Regions from separate parts of the Homo sapiens genome. Here region 2 is linked to region 1. Evidence: promoter capture Hi-C in human tissues and cell types (Jung and others, 2019). All regions are on one chromosome and are shown on one strand. Each heading gives the region's core, a stretch centred on a gene start or on the middle of the fragment in contact. The rest is flanking DNA. Distances are from core to core; before and after follow the strand shown.

Region 1 (5,472 bases), core at 1,685-4,184:
TGAAGCAGGAGAATCACTTGAATCCTGGAGGTAGAGGTTGCGGTGAGCAGAGATGGCGCCATTGTACTCCAGCTTGGGCGACAGAGCAAGACTCCTTCTTAAAAATAATAATAATAATAATAATAAGATAAGGATAATAATAGTACCTCTCTGATAGCCTTATTGTGAGCATTTAATCAGATAATATTTGCAAATTGCATACATAACACGGTGCCTGGTGCTCAGGAAGGACTCGAGAAATGCCAGCTGTTACTAAGGGAGGGCTGGCAGGGGATAGGACATGCTTCAGCTCCACTCCTGGTTCCTGTATGCACCCCAGAGACCTCTCCAGTGCTCTGGCCCTGAGCTGTGAGCTGACTCCTCTATGCCCAACAGTCCCGACTGCCAAAGGACTCTGCCCTGCAGAGGCAGCCTCCGCCCCCACCCCATCTTTGAGCTGGTCCTGCCCCTTACCCCACAGCTGCCCCACCAAGCCTAGATCTCCAGCAAAGCACCACGTGGGGCCCTGGTCCTGATCACTGGAGCCAGCCAGTCAGAATTGGGGCCAGCCTGCCCCTCAGCCAGGAGCCTGGCACCGCCTCCCCCAGCGGGCTCCTGGGCCACCCTGCCTAGGTTGTTAGTAATAAAAATAACTACTTAATAAGTGGAGCTGCAGCCAAACCAATTAGTGCCAACCTACAGGAAGGCCTGGGGCAACCTGAGGTCACCTAGAACACTGGGCTTGTTGGAAGCCAGACCACTCTGCTCTAGAACCAAACTCCTATCCTTACTGGCAGGCATAAGAGGACCCCACAGGGAGATCAGAGTGAGGTGCCTCCCCTTGGGCACTGAGGAGAGTGGAGGCCTAGTGTGGTAGCAGAAGGTGCTACTCCAAGCCAGGACACATCTGGGCCAGAATGGTCTCTTCAGGGCCAGGGGATGGGGCACTGAGTTGGGCTGGGTTGAATGAGCAACAGTTAAGGTCGAATGTACATGGGAAATACCAGTTTTGGTTTTGGGACTTGTGGGTTTTTTTTCTTTTTTTGAGGTGGAGTCTTGCTTTGTCGCCCAGGCTGGAGTGCAGTGGTGCGATCTCAGCTCACTGCAACCTCCGCCTCCCGAGTTCAAGCGATTCTCCTGCCTCAGCCTCCCGAATAGCTGGGACTACAGGCACCCACCACTACACCCAGCTAATTTTTGCATTTTTAGTAGAGACGGGGTTTCACCATGTTGGCCAGGCTGGTCTCAAACTCCTGACCTCAGGTGATCTGCCCACCTCGACCTCCCAAAGTGCTGGGATTACAGGTGTGAGCCACCATGCCTGCCAGGTTTTTTTATTTTTATTTTTTTGAAACTGGATCTCACTCTGTTGCCTGGGCTGGAGTGCAGTGGTGAGATCATGCTCACTGCAGTCTCAAACTCCTGGGCTCAAGCAATCCTCATGCCTCCGCCTCCTGTGAGACTACAGGTGTACGCCACCACACCTGGGTAATTTTCAAAATCTTTTTGTAGAGACAGGGTCTCATTACATTGCCCTGGCTGGTCTGGAATTCCTGGGCTTCAGCAGTCCTCCCGCCTCGGCCTCCCAAAGTAGAAATATCAGTATTGTTGTGGTTAGCCACCATTTATTGAGCACCTACTGTTGCTCAGCCCTGTGCTAGGGATTTCACATATGTTATTACGGCCTTTTATGAGGTGGGCAATATTACCCCTATTTCACAAATGAGGAAAGAGGTTTAAAGGGCTCAAGTGACTGGTACAGAAACCAAGTCTGTTTGGCTCCAAAGTCCAGGCCCTACCCCCCTGCCATGACCCAGAAGCTTGCAGGGCACTGAGCTTGCAGGGCATTGAGAAAGAGGAAGTGAATTGCTAGCTAATGAAGGCCAAAAGGGCCTGGAACCCAGACCTCCTGCTTCCCGGAGTTCCCTTCATCAAGCATCAGGCGAACAGCCCCTCTCACCTGAAGGGTCCAAAGCAATGGCCTCATAATCTAGTGCCTTACAGAGTGAGGCCGACAGCTATTATTACCCCCATTGCCAGATAAATCAACTATGGCCCAAGGAAGGAAAACCTCTGCCTGGGAATCCAGCATCTCAGTGGTCAGGAGGAGAGGCCAGGAGCCACTGACCCTAAGAGGCAGGGTCCAGTGAGACAGGAAGGGACCAGGCACCAGGGTTGCTGGAGCCACGAGGCGACGTCCCCTTTTTCCTGGCTCTTTCCACATGCCACAGTCAAGGACAAGAACACTTAGGGGCTGAGCTTTATTCTATAAACAGGGACAATTGCTCTAGCAGGAGAAGGGATGTGGTGTGGGGTGGGACCTGACAGGAGGACACGTGGTAAGAAGGAAGGAAGAGTTGGAAGGCTGAAGGCTTGGGAGCCACTTTTCCTGGCCAGGCAGGCATCACTGTGAGGTGAGGGCAGAGCCACTCTACCCCTAGTAGTGTGGGTTGGTGGGTTTGCCACAAGGGCTGCCTGCGGATACTGGTGAGTCCTGGTAAAGGTGACTGCTGGGCTCCAGATGATGCGCCCGGGAGGGCTGGGGGTGCAGGCTTCCTAGGTAATTTTCAAAATTGCTTCCTGGAGGGCGATTCCCAGCAGGGTGGCCCGAGGCAGGTCTGGCGCCCCCACTCTCTCCTTTGGAGGCTAGGAGGACCGGAGTCCCCGAGGTCCCACTCACCTCCGAGGCCATGTTGGGCGGTTCCTCGTCGTCCGGAAGCTTCGGTCCTCCGGGTCTGGAAGACAAGACCGGACTGACGACCTCCTTGGCCAGCAGGGTCCCCCGGGCCGGGCTGGCTCCGAGTTCTGGGCACTGCGCTTGAGGGAGCGCAGCCCTTGGGGACGCGGACGTGAGCGCGCGCCACGGTGCTCGGCGTCCTCCACGCCCGTCCCGCCCATCCGGCCGCCGCGCACTCACCTCCGCCTGGCCGCACGGATAGTGTCGCGCCCGCCACTGGCCAGGGCTTTTCTGGCCGGGATGGCGTCAGCAGCCGCCGGTCCTGTCCCCACCCCTGGCGACGGCCGCGCCAATAGGAGGCCGCCCGGCGGGGTGGGCGTTGCCTCCATCCTCCAATCCTGGCCGTGGGCGGGGATACCTCCCGCTGAGCTGGAGGCTAAGCGGCCCCGGGGCGGGGAAGCGGGCGGGGAAAGGGTTGGGGGGACCCCGACGGGGAAGGGGCCTGGGCTGGGGTTGAGGAGGGTAGTGCGCTGGCGTTCGTGCTGTGGTCAGCAGACACGCAGGGGACTGGAGACTCGGGCCAGGGGTAGAGGCTATGACATCAGGCCCGGGCCTGGCAGGTTCACAAGATATATAAGGTGAAATGGCATGTTCGCTCATTCACTCATTCATTCATTCATTCAACAAACACGTACCAGGCACCTCTATGTGCCAGGTACAGAGAAAGGCATCAAGGAAAAAGGAAGGACCATCAGAAATGAAGCCTGTGCCAGGCGCGGTGGCTCACAGCTGTAATCCCAGCACTTTGGGAGGCCGAGGTGGGAGGATCGCTTGAGGCTACGAGTTGGAGACCAGCCTGGGCAATACAACAAGATCCCGTCTCTACAAAAAAATTAATAATAATAAAAAAAAAGCCGGGCGTGGTGGTGCACGCCTGCAGTCCTAGCTACTCAGGAGGCTGAGGCGGGAGGAGCACTTGAGCCCAGGAGTTCGAAGCTGCAGTGAGCTATTGTGCCACGGCACTCCAGCCTGACTCCTCTAAAAAAGAAAAGAAACGCGGCCGGAGGCCGGGCGCGGTGGCTCACGCCTGTAATCCCAGCACTTTGGAAGGCCGAGGCGGGTGGATCACGAGGTCAGGAGTTTGAGACCAGCCTGGCCAAGGTGGTGAAACCCCGTCTCTACTAAGAATACAAAAATTAGCCGGGCACGGTGGCGGGTGCCTGCAATCCCAGCGACTCCGGAGGCTGAGGCAGGAGAATCTCTTGAACCCGGGAGGCGGAGATTGCAGTGAGCTGAGATGGTGCCATTGCACTCCAGCCTGGGTGACAGAGCAAGATTCTGTCTCAAAAAAAAAAAAAAAAAAAAAAAGAAAGAAAGAAAGAAAGAAAGAAAAGAAAAGAAAAAAGAAACGCAGCCGGGCACAGTGGCTTACGCCTTTAATCCCAGCACTTTGAGAGGCTGAGGCGGGCGGATCACCTGAGGTCAGGAATTCGAGATGAGCCTGGCTGACATGGTGAAACCTTGTCTCTATTAGCCGGGTGTGGTGGTGGGTGCCTGTAGTCCCAGCTACTCCGACAGCTGAGGCAGGAGAATCACTTGAACCAGGGAGGTGGAGGCTGCAGTGAGCTGAGACGGCACCACTGCACTGCAGCCTGGGCGACAGTGAGACTCTTGTCTCGAAAAAAAAAAAAAAAAAAGAAAGAAAGAAAGAAAAAGAAAAAGAGAAGAGAAAACAAAGAAAGAAACGAAACAAAAGAAATGAAGCCTGACTTCAAGAAGTTCCAACATAGCATGGAGGAGGTGTGCAGGGAGCACAGGCGTTGGGGAGGGGGGCTATGTTGGGTACTCAGGGAAGAGGTCCTTGATCTGATTAATTAATTATTCAACCAAAATGTCAGGCTGGATTCTAGGCACTGGAAGTACCCTGAAGGGGCTTCTAATGAACCTGTCTTCTGCATTGGGTCTTGGAAGATGGGGGGAATTTGCCCAGGGAAGAAGGGGAGAACATTCCAGGCAGAGGGAGAAGTCTGGACAAAAAATGTGACTGGCCTGCTTTAAGAACAGGAAATCATCCAAGTGGCTGTAACTATAACAAAAGGTAGGGAGGAGAGGTGGAAGGAGTTTGGGAGAAGGCTGTGAAGAGTCTTCAATGTCAAGAGAGGGAGTTTGTTCTTGGTCCTATAGGTCATAGGAAACCCCGATCGATTTTAAAATCAGAGGAGCCAAATTTATTTTATTTTATTTTATTTTTATTTATTTTTTTGAGATGGAGTTTCGCTCTTATTGCCCAGGCTAGAGTGCAATGGCACGGTCCCAGCTCACTGCAACCTCTGCCTCCCAGGTTCAAGCGATTCTCCTGCCTCAGCCTTCCAAGTAGCTGGGGTTACAGGCATGCACCACCACGCCTGGCTAATTTTATATTTTTAGTAGAGATGGGGTCTCTCCATGTTGGCCAGGCTGTTCTTGAACTCCTGACCTCAGGTGATCTGCCCGCCTCAGCCTCCCAAAGTGCTGGGATACAGGGGTGAGCCACTGCGCCCGGCTGAAACCCCATGTTAAAAAAGAAAGAAAGGAAGGAAGGAAGATAAATCTAGCTATAGTATTGAGGATGGAATGGAGGGAGAAGAAGAGACCAGTGGCTGGAATGTTTTGTGATTTGAAGGTGTTTAGCCCTCACTCAACTCAAGAGTGGAATTACTTGGAGTTCCCAGAATGCACCTGACTGTTTCAAGCCTTCCTAAATGCTCTTCCCTGTGCCTGGGATGCCCTTCCCTCAGTGTCGGTCTTGCCACCTCCCATTCGTCCATCAGTATTTT
Region 2 (5,472 bases), core at 2,225-4,724, 1.2 Mb before region 1:
AGAGGCAGAGGTTGCAGTGAGCCGAGATTGTGCCACTGCACTCAAGCCTGCGCTACAGGGTAGGACTCCTTCTTAAAAAAAAAAAAAAAAGGTGGAGTCTGGGCTATAGGGCCCAAGGTTCTGAATTTCTAACAAGCTCCCGATAATGCCCAAGCTCCTGGTCCATGGGCCACACTTTCAGTAGCAGGGTTCCAATAGTATTTCCTGGCCGAAGCCAGTGGCTCATGCCTATAATCCCAGCACTTTCGAAGGCAGCAGGTAGATCACCTGAGGTCAGGAGATTGAGACCAGCCTGGCTAACATGGTGAAACGCCATCTCTACTAAAAATACAAAAATCAGCTGGGCATGGTGGCACACACCTGTAATCCCAGCTACTTGGGAGTCTGAGGCAGGAGAATCGCTTGAACCCGGGAGGGGGAGGTTGCAGTGAGCTGTGATTGCACCACTGCACTTCAGCCTGGGTGACAGAGCAAGACCCTGTCTCAAAAAAATATAAAATACTGGCTGGGTGCAGTGGCTCATGCCTGTAATCCCAGCACTTTGGGAGGCCAAGAGGGTGGATCACCTGAGGTCAGGAGTTCAAGACCAGCCTGGCCAACATGGGGAAACCCTGTCTCTACTAAAAATGCAAAAATTAGCCAGGCATGGTGGCAGGCACCTGTAATCCCAGGTACTCAGGAGGCTGTGGCAGGAGAATCGCTTGAACCCAGAAGGCGGAGGTTGCAGTGAGCTGAGATCACACCACTGTACTCCAGCCTGGGCAACAAAAGGGAAACTCTGTCTCAAAAAAAAAAAAAAAAAAAGATGTCTATTTATTCAAATGAGGAATGCACATATACAAAATTCCAAAGGTACAAAAGAGTAAGCTGTTAGAATTTCATGTTTCTCTCCTGTCTCGCAGCCACGTTGGTTTGTTCTCCTGAGGGAAGAGCTGTTTCCAATTTCTTGTGTGCATTCTCTGAAACGGTTATGCATATACATTCACATCTGGGTGTATACAATTTTTTTTTTTTTTGAGACGGAGTCTCGCTCTGTCACCCAGGCTGGAGTGCAGTGGCATGATCTCGGCTCACTGCAAGCTCCACCTCCCGGGTTCACGCCATTCTCCTGCCTCAGCCTCCTGAGTAGCTGGGACTACAGACACCCACCACCACGCCCGGCTAATTTTTTGTATTTTTAGTAAAGACGGGGTTTCACCGTGTTAGCCAGGATGGTCTCGATCTCCTGACCTCGTGATCCGCCCACCTCGGCCTCCCAGAGTGCTGGGATTACAGGGGTGAGCCACCGTGCCTGGCCATATAATTATTTTTACACAAACTGTATGCCATTTACACTGTTCAGCACCTCACTTTTCTCACTAATGATATATCTTGGAGATTGGCCTCTGTGGGTGCAGGAAGGCTTCCTCACTTTTCATGGCTGCAGAGTCTATGGTACGGAGGTCCACAGTTTTATTTCATTTATTTATTTATTTAATTTTGAGACAGGGTCTCACTCTGTCACCCAGGCTGGAGTGCAGAGGCACCATCTCGGCTCACTGCAACCTCCCAGGTTCAAGCTATCCCCCTGCCTCAGCCTCCCTAGTAGCTGGGATTACAGGTGCCCACCACCAAGCCTGCCTAATTTTTGTATTTTTAGTAGAGACGGGGTTTTACCATGTTGGCCAGGCTGGTCTTGGACTCCTGAGCTCAAGTGATCCGCCCACCTCGGCCTCCCAAAGAGCTGGGATTACAGGCGTGAGCACCATGCCCACCCATGCCTCCTCTTTTTTTAAGAGAGAGAGTCTCACTCTGTCACCCAGGCTGGAGTGCAGTGGTGCAATCATAACTCACTGCATCCTCGAACTCCTGGGCTCAAACAATCCTCCTGCCTCAGCCTCCTGAATAGCTGAAACTACATGTGAATGCCACCACACCCAGCTAATTTTTTGTTTGTAGAGATGTAGAGACAAGGATCTTGCTATGTTGCTCAAGCTGGTCTTGAACACCTGACTTCCAGCCCTCCTCCTGCCTCAGCCTCCCAAACTGCTGGGATTACCAGAGTGAGCCACCTCGCCCAGCCTCCAGACCTTTTTGAATTCCAGAATTGAAAAGCAATTTTAGATCTATAATATGGTTTTTAGAAGATTGCTGAGGGCCTTGATAAGAAACAACAGTGGGGAGAGGAGAGCTTGAACTAACACTTACTGGAAGAAGACAAAGAAATCCTAGGCTGGGCACAGTGGCTCAGGCCTGTAAACCCTGCAGTTTTGGAGGCCGAGGCAGGCAGATCACTTGAAGTCAAGAGTTTGAGACCAGCCTGGCCAACATGGTGAAACTCCATCTCTCCTAAAAATACAAAATTATCCAGGTACAGTGGCACGTGTCTGTAGTCAGGAGGCTGAGGCAGGAGAATTGCTTGAAACGAAGAGGCGGAGGTTGCAGTGAGCCAAGATCATGCCACTGCACTCCAGCCTGGGTGACAGAATGGCATTTTGGTATTTTAGATACCAAAAAAAACCATTAAAAATTAAAAATAAAAACATAAAAATCTGCCCAGAGGCCAGGTGTGGTGGGTACACCGGTAATCCCAGCATTTGGGGAGGCCAAGGCAGGAGAATCACTTGAGCCCAGGAGTTGGAGACCAGTCTAGGCAACATTGCGAAACCTCATCTCTACAAAAAATACAAAAGTTAGCCAGGCATGGTGGCAGGCACCTGTAGTCCCAGTTACTCAGGAGGCTGAAGTGGGAGGGTGCTTTGAGCCCAGGAAGCAGAGGTTGCAGTGAGCCGAGATCTCGCCACTGCACTCCAACCTGGGCAAGAGAGCCAGACTTCATCTCAAAAATAAATGAATACATACTAAAATAAATAAAATGTATTTTTAAAATGCCTAGAACATTCTGTTCTTCTTTTTTTTTTTTTTTTTTGAGACGGAGTCTTGCTCCGTCACCCAGGCTGGAGTGCAGTGGTACAATCTCAGCTCACTGCAACCTCTGCCTCCCAGGTTCAAGCGATACTCCTGCCTCAGCCTCCTGAGTAGCTGGGATTACAGGCGCCTGCCACCATGCCCAGCTGTTTTTTGTATTTTTAGTGGAGCTAGGGTTTCACCATGTTGATCAGGCTGGTCTCAAACTCCTGACCTCGTGATCCACCTGCCTCGGACTTCCAAAGTCCTGGGATTACAGGTGTTGCGCCACCGCACCTGGCCGGGTTTTGTTTTCTCATTTCTGTTGTGTTTGTTTTGTTTTGTTTTTTCGAGATGGAGTCTCACTCTACTGCCCAGGCTGGAGTCAGTGGTTCAATCTCAGCTCACTGCAACCTCCAACTCCCGGGTTCAAGCAATTCTCCTGCCTCAGCCTCCCGAGTAGCTGAGATTACAGTCGCTCACTACCATGCCCTGCTAATTTTTGTATTTTTAGTACAGACAGGGTTTCACGATGTTGACCAGGCTGGTCTCAAATTTCTGACCTCAGACGATCCACCTGCCTCTGCCTCCCTAAGTGCTGTAATTACAGGCATGAGCCACTGTGCCTGGTCTGTTTTTGTTTGTTTGTTTGTCTTTTGAGACAGAGTCTAGTTGCCCAGGCTGGAGTGCAATGGCGTGATCTCGGCTCACTGCAACCTCTGCTTCCCCGGTTCGAGATTCTTCTACCTCAGCCCCCTAAGTAGCTGGGATTATTGGTGCATGCCACAACACCCAGCTAATTTTTTTTTTGTATTTTTAGTAGAGATGGAGTTTTCACCATGTTGGCCAGGCTGGTCTCAAGCTCCTGACCTCAAGTGATCTGCCTGTCTTGGCCTCCCAAAGTCCTTGGATTACAGGCATGAGCCATCATGCCTGGCCAGCAGGCAAGACATAGGGTTTATTAAGGGGACTTACAGGGTAGTCCAGACATGGCAGGTGGAACAGGAGAATCACACCTGCTTACAAAAAGCATGCAGTTGGGCCGGGCGTGGTGGCTCACGCCTGTAATCCCAGCACTTTGGGAGGCCAAGGTGGGCGGATCACAAGGTCAGATTGAGACCATCCTGGCTAACATGGTGAAACCCCGTCATCTCTACTAAAAATACAAAAAATTAGCCAGGCGTGGTGGGAGGTGCCTGTAGTCCCAGCTACTCGGGAGGCTGAGGCAGGAGAATGGTGTGAACCCAGGCGGCAGAGCTTGCAGTGAGCCGAGATTGTGCCACTGCACTCCAGCCTGGGTGACAGAGCAAGACTCTGTCTCAAAAAAAAAAAAAAAAAAAAAGCATGCAGTTTATAGAGCATTTCCACTTAGCACCCTCCCCCTAGCACCCTCCCTCTGGCAAACCTTCACTGAACCCCAAACAAAGGCCACCATCCCCTAGATGGTCCAGGGGTTCAGATGTTCCTCACAGATAAGAAATGAATCTCTGGGTTGGCCACTCCTGGATTCCTTAGCTTAGAATTTTCAACACATACTCTTCTTAAGACCATGGGGTCATTTTCAAGGTATGCTGATGTTACTGTTGTCAGATGTGTTTGCCATGCATCATAGCTAACCACTAGGAAGTTCTATAAGTGAGGCAAGGCCTTAAGAACATACTCTGAGCTAGAAGTGTCAAGTTGGAGGCCCTCGACATTAGAAGCCAGAGACTGGGTACACCCCACATAGTGAGAGAAGGTGAGGGATGTGGGGATGTGTCAGCTATATCCATTGCTACCCAGCAAACCATTCCAAGTCTTAGTGGAGAAAAATAACTTTTTTTTTTTTTTTTTTTTTTTGTCAGAGGCAGGTTCTCATTCTGTCACCCAGGCTGGAGTGCAATGGTGCAAACACGGCTTACTGCAGCCTCAACCTCCTGGGCTCAAGTGATCCCCCCCACCTCAGCCTCCCAAGTAGCTGCAACTACAGGCATGCATCACCATGCCCCAGTAATTTTTGTATTTTTTTGTAGAGAAGGGGTTTTGCCATGTTGCCCAGTCTGGTCTTGAAGTCCTGACCTCAAGGTCTCCACCCGCCTTGGCCTCCCAAAATGCTGGGATTACAGGCATGGGCCATCACACCCAGCCTGATGTTACTACTATAACTGTTTTGGGGTACCACGAACCATGCCCATATAAGATGGCAAACTTAACAAATGTTGTCTGTGTTCTGACTACCCTACCAACAAGCTTCCCTGTCTCTGTCTCTCTCCTCAGGCCTCCCTATTCATTCCTTGAGACATAAAAGTATTGTAATTAGGTCAATTAATAACCCTCTTAAGTATCCAAATGAAAGGAAGAGTCATATGTTTCTCATTTTAAATCAAAAGCTAGAAATGATTAAGCTTAGAGGCCAGGCGTGGTGGCTCATACCTATATTCTCAGCACTTTAGGTGGCCGAGGTGGCAAATCACTTGAGGTCAGTTTGAGACCAGCCTGGCCAACATGGCGAAACCCTGTCTTTACTAAAAACAGAAAATTAGCCGGGCACGGTGGCAGGCACCTATAATCCCAGCTACTCAGGAGGCTGAGGCAGGAGAATCGCTT

Evidence for each region. The method cuts DNA at HindIII sites, captures the fragments that hold promoters and counts their contacts. A contact is called where the count stands out against the background at its distance.
Region 2: a fragment that was not itself captured here is called in contact with the fragment with the promoter of ASL in region 1 in 1 of the 25 tissues and cell types used here (spleen).

Annotation. Positions count from the first base shown.
Region 1 is chr7:66,073,281-66,078,752 of GRCh38, reverse strand. It overlaps ASL (argininosuccinate lyase), which reads right to left and starts at 2,934. Exons shown (of 17, transcript NM_000048.4): 1 at 2,897-2,934; 2 at 2,660-2,714. The coding sequence starts at 2,671. RefSeq lists an enhancer at 2,384-2,663 and a silencer at 2,764-3,293. The HindIII fragment of the contact is 4,995 bases long and covers 2,250-5,472 here.
Region 2 is chr7:67,314,269-67,319,740 of GRCh38, reverse strand. It overlaps the pseudogene STAG3L4. Among named protein-coding and RNA genes, the nearest start is that of LINC01372, 19 kb to the left of the region's middle. The HindIII fragment of the contact is 8,480 bases long and covers 1-5,472 here.